3 separate regions of the Homo sapiens genome follow, and regions 1 and 2 are each linked to region 3. The links are contacts of gene promoters, found by promoter capture Hi-C in blood cells and fetal thymus (Javierre and others, 2016). All regions are on one chromosome and are shown on one strand. Each heading gives the region's core, a stretch centred on a gene start or on the middle of the fragment in contact. The rest is flanking DNA. Distances are from core to core; before and after follow the strand shown. Region 1 overlaps ATP11A (ATPase phospholipid transporting 11A). Region 2 overlaps ATP11A (ATPase phospholipid transporting 11A). Region 3 holds the start of ATP11AUN (ATP11A upstream neighbor lncRNA).

Region 1 (4,268 bases), core at 1,769-4,268, 210 kb before region 3:
TATGGGCTTGGGAGGCTTTATTCCTAAGCAGCTAAGTCAGCGCAATCGAGCTCTGTACTGACCTGCCCGTTGCTTGTCACAGTTGTATTTTCAAACACGAAATAAGCACCAAAGAAGAACACCAGTGCGTCAAACAGTCCCAGGAGCGTCCAGTAGATGAACACGCGCCAGCGCAGCAGGGCATTCTTGGCGACGTCCCTGGTGAGGAGAAAGGTGCACAGCGTGTGTCCTCGAGAATCAGGGCCCGGCACCTCCCCCAGGCTCTGGGGTGGCCATCCCTGGACGTTGTCTTCATGGGATAAGATGTGCACGGCCAGTAAACATCAAGTTTGTGCTCTGGCCACAAATGTGGCATGTTCATCACAACCAGCATTTCACTACCCACTCATGTCCTTGGCTAACTTTTGCTCAGATATTTTCTCTCTCATATTCACTGCAATATCGTCATAGGCACAGAGATGCTGCCACATGCTGCTGCTTCTGAAAGCAACGAACAGAGAACACAAGGCACACCCCTGACGTTCACCGAGCTTGTGACACCTTACGCCTGACGTGACGCCTTACGCCTGACGTGATGCCTTACGCCTGCTGTGACACCTTACGCCTGACGTGACGCCTTACGCCTGCTGTGACACCTTACGCCTGACGTGACACCTTATGCCTGTTCAATAAGACAGAATTTGCAGGATTCCTTTCAGACACATGTCTAGAACAGTATATCTTCTCCCATTTTCTTAGATTTATTCCCATTTTCTTTAGATTTATTAAAGATGCCTGTTCAATAAGACAGAATTTGCAGGATTCCTTTCAGACACATGTCTAGAACAGTATATCTTCTCCCATTTTCTTAGATTTATTCCCATTTTCTTTAGATTTATTAAAGATGTACAACCAACTCAGAAGTTTGCCTTTTTATCATCGTCCTTAATCACCTACAGTGATTACTTTTGGATCCAAGCCGTCAAGATCCCACAGAATGGCTAAATATTCTGATGAGGGCAGTGAGGCCGATGCACGGATTCCTGCAGAATCCCAGGCAGGGAAGTGAGTGGTCTTGGCTATGGTGGTGGATGCAGGAAACACGCATGTGAGAAGACTGCACAGAATTGAACACACACATACACGTGTCATGTACACACATGTACGTAAGTGCAGGGAAAGCTGGGTGATCTGAATAAGGGAACGGGTGAACGGCACCAACATCAGTACACTGGATGTGATGCTGGACTGCAGTTTCTTGCGTGTCACCACTAAGGGACATGGGATCAGGGCCCACAGAATCTATTATTTCTTACAACTGCATATGGATGTAAAATTATCTGAAAAATAAAATTTTAATTTATGATAGGGTTTGGCTGTGTCCTCACCCAAATCTCGTCTTGAATTGTAGCACCTATGATCCCCACGCATCATGGGAGGGACCTGGTGGGCAGTGATTGAGTCATGGGGGTGGTTTTTTCCCATGTTGTTCTCGTAATAGTGACTAAGTCTCACGATATCTGATGGTTTTATAAAGGAAAGTTCTCCTGCACACGCTCTCCTGTCTGCCACCATGTAAGACGTGCCTTTGCTCCTCATGCCTTCCGCCATGATTGTGAGGCCTCCCCAGCCATGTGGAACTGTGAGTCCATTAAACCTCCTTCCTTCATAAATTACCCAGTCTCAGGTATGTCTTCACAGCAGGATGAAAATGGACTAATACAATTTAAAAGACCATGGAAAACAGTAACATATTGAATCTGCCAGAGACCTTGGGGGGCATTTCTGAAATAGCAGAAAAATATCTCTTCCATATTATTTTTAAAAAATAACGGGGAGAAAAGACACCCTGAAACCAGAGCTGTTAATTTTTGTTTTTTCTCACTGAATGGAACACACATGGTTTTAAAGGATAACTTAGGCCACAGATTCCCTAGGGTCACAACGAGGAAGACGCTTGTACCCCAGCTCCCTCAGGACTGTCAGAAAGCACAGGAAAGTGCAAACTGGCTCCACACAGATGTTCCAAATGCAGCATAAACCATCCAGCAAGACTTGAAGAATCTCCATTTGAGCTATGTTGCTTCCAGTTTAAACAAGCTCCTGATCAAGCAAGAATATCAGCAGATGCCGAATGCTTCTGGCCCTCAACTGAGGTCTGCCAGGTGGCTATTGGAAGGAACTGCCAGAGTGCTGCCTAGTTACTCTCTCTGCTCTCAGGAGAGGCTGTTTGGAGGATGGTACCTGTACAGGGTCGGGTCTCTCTTGAGCACGTCAATGCCAACATGCTGCTCCATGAGGCTGTACAGGAGGATGGGGAGGGAGGTGAAGCTGATGTTGTAGAGGGTCAGATACGCGGTGTCGTACAAAGTCTGTAAGAGGAAAGTCACAAGAAGTGGCACCTCAGTGCATTGTTACAAACTTTTTGGATCTTTTGATTAAATATATTTTCTTTCTGAAATGCATAGAAAGACCAGAGCGCTTTTCAAAGCTTAACAATATAAACTAGGGTCTGTGATATCAACTGTGATTTCAGGATGAAAGTCACAGCTGGCAAAAAGCCTAACACTGACTCATCCCATTCTATCAGCACAAACTTCAAGAAAAAAAAAAAAAAGGAAAAAAGTCACAGAAAACATTTGCAATTCTGATTGCCATCTTCAAGCTTCAGTGACTCTGGTCGCAGTCACTTCCCATGAAGGCAGCTGGCCCGCCAACCACTGAGCACACATGTGACAGAAGGAGGTGTCCATCTAGGGCAGATGCCCGGGGAGTCCTTCACCCCTCCCGGATGGGAACTGTCTTCTTCCCCTATGGGCACGTTGCATGTGTTAACGTGCCAGGCACCGGGGTGGCCCATGTCCACAAGGACCTCGAGTTGGAGTTAATTCTTGCAGTGGCATCAGGATGCCCAGCCCAGCACTGCTGGGCCCTGAGGAGACCACATCATCACTGGCCCGCATCTCAGGGCCACGGCAGTTTCAGAAGACATGGAACAAGGGGCCTCCAGGACGGCAACTCCTCAGCTCCGTGGCCCCCCTCCCCAGGCCCGACCCTTCACCCCCGCCTGCTGCTGGGCACCCTGGCTCCCTCGTGGTGCCGGGGAGTGCTGCTCATTCCCAAGTCTCCCCTCCCCACAGCAGCCACCCACTGCGGGAAGGAAAAGAAGGCTCAGACAGCCTGTCCCTGAAGACCCTAGGACTGACCTGTTGTGAAAACCCACAGAAGAACTGGTATAAAAACTGAGGGAAGATGAAGCAGACGTTCTGAAAGGCAAGGCATAACTGTTAGTTCGGTGACGGGACAGAGGGAGGCAGCCGCCACCTACCGACGTGGCCCACCCCACATGGGAGGAGGGATCCACGTGCACCCAGCGTGCGGCAGAACAGCACTAATGGGTTCTAGAAAGCTTTCTCTTATTTCAGGGGCAACTGAAATGCACATGTGACCACGTTTTGGCCACTCAGGACAGACAACGTATAGAGGAAATTTGTCAGCTCCAAGAGAAACAAGAAGGCAATGCAGGTATCAGTATAAACGGGAAAGAATCGAACTGCACAGTGAATAAGGAATCCTTCCTCAAACATTTCCACCTGAAAGGTTCTCACTGGTTCCACACTCAATTCTGTGGGGGGAGAAAAGGGCTGGGGGTCTCCTCCCGCGGCACGGCAGGCCCTCCTCATCCTCAGGGGTACATTCCCAGACCCTGGGGGGATGCAGAGTCTGCGGATGGTCCTGAACCCTGTCTATGCTCTAGATGGGTATGTGTGTTCGTATACATACACACCCATGATAAAGTTTAATTTATAAAGTAGGTGCAGTGAAAGAGTAACAACAAAACATAGAATAACTATAATAATATACCGTAATCAAAGTTACATGAATTTGGTCTCTCCCTCCTCCTCTTAAAATATATTATTGTGTCATATTCACCCTTCTTCTTGTGATCTGTCAACCTCATCACCAAGACAGCTACAGAGTGACTGAGGGGCAGGTAGTGTACACACAGCATCGGCACACCGGACAAAGGGACAAGCCACATCCCAGGAAGGAGACAGCAGGACGGCGTGAGACTTCATCACGCTGCTCGGAATGGCATGCAATTTAAACCTGAGGAACTGTTTATTTCTGCAATTTTGCGTTTGATATTTTTGGGCATGGGTTGACTGTAGGTAATGGAAACTGTAAAAAGCAAAGTCACAGCTAAGCAAGAGATGACTGCAATCAGATTCACCCCTTCCTTTCTGACAGTTGCTGCTCCTCGGAGATCAATGACCTCTTGTGGCATC
Region 2 (3,756 bases), core at 1,039-3,538, 200 kb before region 3:
TGGTTAGTACTGCTAGTGCCCGGCACTTGGACTAGTACCGCTAGAGGTACTTGGACTAGCGGCCGCTGAACTAGTACCGCTAGTGCTCGGCAACTGAACGAGTGCTGCTGTTCCTCACGACAGAAATGAACGGGCCCACACGGCCGAGTCTCAGCAGTTATGGGAGTGAAAGACGCCGGATACAACAGCCGCCTTTTGTGATTCTGCTGATAGGAAGCTCCAGAAGGTGGGCACGAATCTGCAGTGACGGCGAGTGGAGCGGTGGTCTCCAGCGAGTGGGAGTTGGCAGGGATGGGAGTATGAGGGCGCGAGACAGTCTCTAGGGTGAGGGATGCGTCCCCTTCCCAGCAGGCAAAGCCTCCACCTGTGTGTTCGTGTGTCAATGCCCTTGCTGCTCTCGCATTTTAAATATGTATAGATCAATGTATGGCAATTACATCTCAAGAAGACTTTCTGAAACAAGCAGCAAGTGGACTTTACAATCATCACAATTCACATAATCCATGCGCCTACTCTCCTGGGCAGCAGCAGTGGGGATCCAGCAGGTGGAAGATATTTGGTACTCAGGCCATGAAGACCCTCCATGGAGGACCAGTCACCTGTGACCTGTAGCCATCGTGTGCTCAGCATGGCACGGCGACCACGTCACAGCAAAGCACAGCCTCGCGCTATTGGAAAGCGAGCTGCAGATGGAGCTGCCCCCTCAGGAGCCCCCACACGCCCCTGTACTGAGGCTCATTGTGTGTCGAAGCGCAGGACGCTTGTGCTGCTCAGAGGAACCCGCTCGGCTCCCACCCTGCAGCTCTGTGGCTGGTGGAAGTCAGTGATGTATTTTCCAGATCCCTCACAGAGAAGTTCAACAATCTTTAACCTGCTGCTGATTTATGGATTCCTGTTGGCTCCAACGCAGCTACTTTGTAGTGCCAGGAGCTGTTTTAATAGCAACGTAAAGATGATGATCCGCACGTCGACAGCATTCCACGAAGTTCACAGGCTCTGGCTGCTGCACGCACGGGCTCGCGAGCGAAAGGGCTCCTGTCCATCGGCAGGAATTCTTAATGCTCTGACATCTACAGTAATCAAGTGTTGCGACTGACAGCGAGGACAAACATTGCTTTACATTTAAATGGTCAGTGAAGGGAGCGCTGAGTACCACGACCTCTAGTCCAAGGTTCTCTCGGTTCAGCCTTCCTTGGTGCAGAGCCAGCCTTGGAAGTCTTGTTTTCCAGTGCGTAGCCACTCTGGCCAGCGTCATTTTGGACCTCTGGGAGGAGAGCCTGTCAGTTACTGTTTCTTTTTCATGAAAAGATGATAAGGTCGGTGTGAGAGGAGGTGCTGCCCTGGGCTGGAGTGAGGGAGAAGACCCCAGGGTGGTGTCGGGAGAAGGGTGCAGACACCGTGGGACAAAGCAGCCACGTGGGGAGCAGAGGGAGCGCGTCCACCCAGCCACGCATCACCCAACGTTAGGGCATCTGATGGGAGGGAACGCGCCCACCCGGCCATGCGTCACCCAGCTTTAGGACGTCTGACAGGAGGGAGTGCGTCCACCCCAGCCACGCACAGTGTAGCTTTAGGGCATCTCACAGGAGGGAGCATGTGCACTCAGCCGTGCGTCACTCGGCGTTAGGACATCTGACGGGAGAGAGCACGTCCACCCAACCATGCGTCGCTCGGCGTTAGGACCTCTCACAGGAGGGAGCATGTCCACCCAGCCACGCATCACCCGGAGTTAAGGTGTCTGACAGGAGGGAGCGTGTCCACCCCAGCCACGTGTTGCCCGGCTTTAGCGCGTCTGACGGGGAGGGGAGGCCCTGCTGTGAGAGACACTCAGGCCGGCCCCCTACCGCAGCAGCCCCAAAGACAGAAAGCCGGACCCACGGAGTGGGAGGCTCAGGTGTGCGGGCTGCTGGGCGGTGCTATACAACAAGTGGTGGAAAGAAACCTTATCATACAAGCTTAAGACCCAGATGGGGAAAGAAACCCAAACAGGTGATGTCACAACAGAAAACGAAAGTGCTGATTTGTTTTGAAGCAAATCACTAGAAACGTCAACACAAAGACTTTTTGCTCCAATACAATAACCACAAACGTGCTAATTCTGACTCCCCAAAACATCAATCAACCAACCTGGCACCCACCCGAAAATAAAACCCTGTGCAAGGCTGGGGAGGAGATGGCCTGTGCCTGGCTGGACAGCCTGTGCCTGGCTGGGTATCGGAGGCCCCCTGGGGTCGGTGCCGGCTGAGGCTGCCTGTCTGTCTGCCTCTGGCCCAGCTGATTTCTAAACATTCCCCAAGGAATACAATACGCCATTCCCAGCCAGGAACTTGTGGAACATGGAATTCCTTCCTGACAGCAGGGGAGCTGACCGCCACGAGGCCCTCCCCAGCCCGGCTCTCACCACTGCGTTACGCTCCACTCTGGCTCGGATCTGGTCAACTTTGCCTTCTATCACTCGGGGGAATATCGAAGAATCTGCTCCTTTGCAAAACAGATAAATTTCTCCTACAAAATGAGAAAAATGAGGAGTTTAATCACAATATGGGGAAGACTAGATTATTTTTTAAAATTATGCCATTATTAAAAAACAAAAAACAGGGATAGCAGTGTGGAAAGCTTTTTAAAGATTTTAATGGACCAGTTAACACGCTACAGTCAGGAAAAAATAAACCCACAGATAACCTCCAAAGCCTCGTTTTATTCCTACACCCTAGAAATTCCACAGGAGAGGCAGGAACGAGGAAAAGAACTTGGCTCCGGGACTCTGTTTTTTCTCTGGGAAAGACACGAAAGGGGACAAAATGCCCTCGGGACGGGCGTTGGGGTGACCCAAAGGGGGTCCTGGTTTCTGAAATGCTGGAAGGTGAACACAAATCCCCTTCGGAGAGTCATCTGTCCTCATGCAGAGCAAGGCAGCCGGGCCACCTCTGAACTTGGAAGAGTCAGGGGAAACGTTTGCGTCATTTTTTCCCACACGTCCAGTAACACTGTGATCGCTGTGGACATACTTGTGCTGTGAACGTGGGCTTCTCAGGCCTCAGATAAAGCGAGTTTCTCTTCCAGGCACTGCAGCATACAGCAAAGGCCACGACAGTTCTGCTGTGATGTCACCTGCTCCTGACACACAGAGCCCCCTCTGCACCTGAAGCATCCCTGGACGGCGAAGCCACGTGGCACTCTGCCAGGTGGCTAGTTTGTGCCTGGGCGCAGGTGCTCCCGACACACAGAGCCCCCTCTGCACCTGAAGTATCCCTGGTCCACCAAGCCACGTGGCACTCTGCCAGGCGGCTGGTTTGTGCCTGGGCGCAGGTGCTCCCGACACACAGAGCCCCCTCTGCACCTGAAGCATCCCTGGACGGCGAAGCCACGTGGCACTCTGCCAGGCGGCTGGTTTGTGCCTGGGCGCAGGTGCTCCCGACACACAGAGCCCCCTCTACACCTGAAGCATCCCTGGTCCGCGAAGCCACGTGGCACTCTGCCAGGCGGCTGGTTTGTGCCTGGGCGCAGGTGCTCCCGACACACAGAGCCCCCTCTGCACCTGAAGCATCCGTGGTCCGCGAAGCCACGTGGCACTCTGCCAGGCGGCTGGTTTGTGCCTGGGCGCAGGTGCTCCCGACACACAGAGCTCCCTCTGCACCTGAAGCATCCCTGGTCCGCGAAGCCACGTGGCACTCTGCCAGGCGGCTGGTTTGTGCCTGGGTGCAGGGAAACGCCGTGCTACGGCGCGGTGACGGCAGGGTGGGAGAAACACCACAG
Region 3 (4,244 bases), core at 797-3,296:
CCAGTGTGTTCTCGGAGGTACGCCGATGAGACAGCATCGCGTGGGAGGCAGCACTGACCAATCCCAGCGGCGGCCCCGGGAAGGACCGGACTCAGCGCAGCTCTATGTGGAGCTTCCCACACACCCAGGGCCCAGTACAGGGCTCGGCTCTTAGATGGTGCTTGAGAAATATGAATTGAATGGACGAATGATTGAATGGACGAGGCCAGGTGTGGTGGCTCACCCTGTAATCCCAGCACTTTGTGAGGCCGAGGCAGGTGGATCACGTGAGGTCAGGAGTTCGAGACCAGCCTGACTAACATGGTAAACCCCATCTCTACTAAAAATACAAAAATTAGCCAGGCGTGGTGGCACGTACCTGTAATCCCAGCTACTCGGGAGGCTGAGGGGGGAGAATTGCTTGAACCCAGGAGGCAGAGGTTGCAGTGAGCCGAGATCACGCTACTGCACTTCAGCCTGAGCGACAGAGTGAGACTCTGTCTCAAAAAAAAAAAAAAAAAAAAAGAGTAAATGTAGGAAATGTTGCTTTCACTGGTCTTTTGGCCTAATATATAGTATTCTACATTCTACCTGCATAAACCAGGTAATGCAAGGAGCCCAAATTTGAATACTCACAGTACTTAAAACCTGAAACTAACAAAGGTTAGAAAAACAGAATGAGGCCCTCTTTCTCCTGCCTGGCCCGGCCCCAGGCTCCATGTGGTAACCCTCCCCTCACCATCACCCTTGCTTTACAAACCCGCCCCTGCTGTGCTTTCCTGTGCTGCTGGCTTTATCTGAGCCCCCCAGGGCAGTCACCACCCTGCTTGGGCCCCCTGCTGCTGCGCCTGTCAGGATCATTGCGAGATCCGTGAAACCTGAAGCTGGGCACTCAGTACCGCTCCCGGCTGCAGGTAGGAGCTGACCGAAGGGTCTGTGTGCCCCCCGTGAGCCTTGACAACCTGGTCAGGAAAAGACTCGTCTCCATCTCCCATCTGTGGGTGGAACAAGGAAGGCTTTGCATGTGATGAGGAAAACAAAACAAAACAAAAAATGCCCATGAACAATCCCGAACTCTTCCTGTTGGCAAAATCCTTCCAGTGAGATTATTTTCACGAATTCAGTTGTTAAATCCGTAACTCAATCAGGCCTTTTAAGAATTAAGCAAGGAGGCGTGGCACGGTGGCTCACGCCTGTAATCCCACTACTCTGGGAGGCTGAGGCAAGCGGATCATGAGGTCATGAGTTTGAGATAAGCCTGGCCAACATGGTGAAACCCTGTCTCTACTAAAAAATACAACAATTAGCCGGTCATGGTGGCGCATGCCTGTAATCCCAGCTACTTGGGAGGCTGAGACAGGAGAATCACTGGAACTCAGGAGGTGGAGGTTGCAGTGAGCCAAGATCGTGCCATTGCGCTCCAGCCTGGGTGAAAGAGTGGAACTCCATCTCAAAACTACAACAACAACAAAAAAGAATTAAGCAAGGCCCCACCCAAGACATAGAACCTACCTTTTCCGGCCTCCTTGCCCAAGCTCGGTATGATTACAAACCAGGGCTTCTCTGTCGCAGGGTTGCATCTCCAGCTCAGAAGCTCTGGCTGGACGTGTGAGACAGGTCCCTTCTCCGAAGAAGCGGAAACGTGGACATGACACTGGCATTTCTGGTTTGGGCACCACTTGAGCAGACTGGCGTCTTCCCCCCGACGGTGTTCAAAACCCTGATGGCGTTGAAGCAAGGCCACCTAAACTCAGCCACGACTAAAACTCCACAGCTGAGCTTTCCAGCGTTTGTCGGTATCCTTGCTGTGTTTGCAAGGGTCATTGTTTAGATTCTCTCTGCTAAACCTGGGGATGGTCACCGTGTTGAGGGGAAAACAACTTCAGTCTGTTTTTGCTTTAAGCAGAGGTCTGCTTGGGTACTCTTGCCTGGGTTCCTACGAAGTGGACACACGAAGAAAGGGCCCGTTCTCTTTACTCCCCCACCCCCCAGTAGCACCCTGCTCCGAATTTGCAATAGCAGATGAAGGCCGGAGCTGCGGCCCCTTTCTCAGTTGTTTTTGATACTGAGGCATAAACAGAACAACATTCAAAAACTGAGGTGAGGGAATTAATTATTAAGCAGCCTACCACAATCAATACAATATTGCTGGTGTGTTTCCTTTTAGATATTTCTGGAGTTTGCTTTCAATATTTAATTCAACCCAAACTGGTAGGTCACCACCATATGTAGCTTGTATTATACGGTCACACACCACAGAAAGCTGAAGTTCTCGATGCAGAATTCAGGTGTGTTAGGCTGTGATTTTAAAAGGCTTACCCTTCCAGGGCAGGTTACAGTAAGAGACACTTTCACACACTCTTTTCTTGTCTGCCTTTTAAAAAACATAGTAGGGTTACTTGCTTTGCAAATTCTTCTTAAATTAACAATTTGTCAGAGTATTGGTTAAAGATTGTAAGAAATGGAATAATTAGTATCAAAGTGCAATGGCTGTGTTTCTCAGAATTAGTATGTGAACAACCAGATGAAAGTGGGGAGGAGGGAATATTTCCTTTTTAAATCACTTTAGGAGGCCGACGTGGGCAGATCACCTGAGGTCAGGAGTTCCAGACCAGCCTGGCCAACATGGTGAAACCCTGTCTCTACTAAAAATACAAAAATTAGCCAGCCGTGGTGACGGGCTCCTGTAGTCCCAGCTACTCAGGAGGCTGAGGCAGGAGAATCACTTCAACCTGGGAGGCAGTGGAGGTTGCAGTGAGCCGAGCCGGCACCATTGCACTCCAGCCTGGGTGACAGAGTGAGACTCCGTCTCAAAAAAAAAAAAAGTCATCGAGTTATTTTGCTGAATTATTGAGTGAATTCGCCTCTTCCCTGGCCAGCATCTCCTTAGCAGGGAAAAGGGGGAGGTCTGGGATGAGGAATGATCGGGTTGTCTGATCAGGGGTGTCTGTTACCAGCAGTGCTTAGAAACAGACAGTTATGCCTTCCCATGTCTACATGGTCGCCTTGAGCACAATTGCTCAGAAAAGTGACATCAAAATGCCCACCGTTCCTTCAAAACCTGCAGATCAAAGCAGTTTTCTCAAATTCTCTTCTTGCATTCTGAGATATGATTTCTACCTGCTGAGTAGCTGGTCCGACGCCTTCACCATTTTAGATGTTTCCTCCTGAGCTGAGACACTGTCCTGCTTTAAAACCTTCTTGGAAAGGACACCCTGGCCAGTCACTGACGCCTCCTGAGTTCATGTCCTAGGACTGCCGTAACAAAGTGTCACACACTGCATAGTATACACAACAGAAGTGCGTTCTCTCACCGTTCTGGGGACCGAATGCCCAAGGTCAAAGTGTAGGCAGAAACATGCCCCCTTGGCAGGCTCTGGGGAAGACCCTTCACCCCTCTCCCAGCCCCTGCTGGCTGCCAGCCATCCTTGCCATCCTCGCCATCCTCGCCGTCCTCACCGTCCTCGCCGTCCTCGCCATCCTCGGTGTCCTCGCCGTCCTCGCCGTCCTCGCCGTCCTCGCCATCCTCGCCGTCCTCGCCATGCTCACCGTCCTCTGTGTCCTCGCCATCCTCGCCGTCCTCGCCGTCCTCACCGTCCTCGCCATCCTCGCCATCCTCAGTGTCCTCGCCATCCTCGCCATCCTCGCCGTCCTCGCCGTCCTCGCCGTCCTCGGTGTCCTCGCCGTCCTCGGTGTCCTCGCCATCCTCACCATCCTCACTGTCCTCGCCATCCTCGCCATCCTCGGTGTCCTCTGGTTGGTGGACACATCGCTCCAGCCTCTGCCTTGAACGTCACTTGCTGGTCTCCCGTGTGTGTGTGTGTGTGTGTGTGTGTGTGTGTGTGTGTGTGTGTGTGTCTGTGTTCAGATTTCCTTCTTCTTTTTTTTTTGATATGGACTCTCGCTCTGTCACCCAGGCTGGAATGCGGTGGCACCATCTCAGCTCACTGCAACCTCCGCTTCCTGGGTTTAAGCCATTCTTGTGCCTCAGCCTCCTCAGTAGCTGGGATCACAGGCGCCTGCCACCACACCAGGCTAAGTTTTGTATTTTTAGTAGAGATGGGGTTTCACCATGTTGGCCAGGCTGGTCTCGAACTCCTTAACTCAGGTGATCCACCTGCCTTGGCCTCCCAAAGTGCTGGGATTACAGGCACTGCACCCGGCCCAATTTCCTTCCTTTAAGGACACTCACTGGTGGTTGCATCCAAGCTCACCCTACTTCAGTGTGACCTCACCTTAACTTGATTCCACCCACAAAGACCCTA

What was found. The method cuts DNA at HindIII sites, captures the fragments that hold promoters and counts their contacts. A CHiCAGO score of 5 or more calls a contact.
Region 1: a fragment that was not itself captured here is called in contact with the fragment with the promoter of ATP11AUN in region 3 in 1 of 17 cell types (endothelial precursors); the score reaches 8.2 in endothelial precursors.
Region 2: a contact is called between a fragment that was not itself captured here and the fragment with the promoter of ATP11AUN in region 3, in 3 of 17 cell types (endothelial precursors, M0 macrophages and M2 macrophages). The highest score is 6.1, in endothelial precursors.

Annotation. Positions count from the first base shown.
Region 1 is chr13:112,858,370-112,862,637 of GRCh38, reverse strand. ATP11A (ATPase phospholipid transporting 11A) reads right to left here. Exons shown (of 30, transcript NM_015205.3): 23 at 3,186-3,245; 24 at 2,224-2,351; 25 at 63-198. Among named protein-coding and RNA genes, the nearest start is that of ATP11A-AS1, 110 kb to the right of the region's middle. The HindIII fragment of the contact is 744 bases long and covers 2,647-3,390 here.
Region 2 is chr13:112,841,025-112,844,780 of GRCh38, reverse strand. It overlaps ATP11A (ATPase phospholipid transporting 11A), which reads right to left. Exons shown (of 30, transcript NM_015205.3): 17 at 2,402-2,505. Among named protein-coding and RNA genes, the nearest start is that of ATP11A-AS1, 88 kb to the right of the region's middle. The HindIII fragment of the contact is 661 bases long and covers 1,958-2,618 here.
Region 3 is chr13:112,644,846-112,649,089 of GRCh38, reverse strand. ATP11AUN (ATP11A upstream neighbor lncRNA) reads right to left here and starts at 2,046. Exons shown (of 3, transcript NR_164109.1): 1 at 1,492-2,046. RefSeq lists an enhancer at 446-1,340. The HindIII fragment of the contact is 10,476 bases long and covers 1-4,244 here.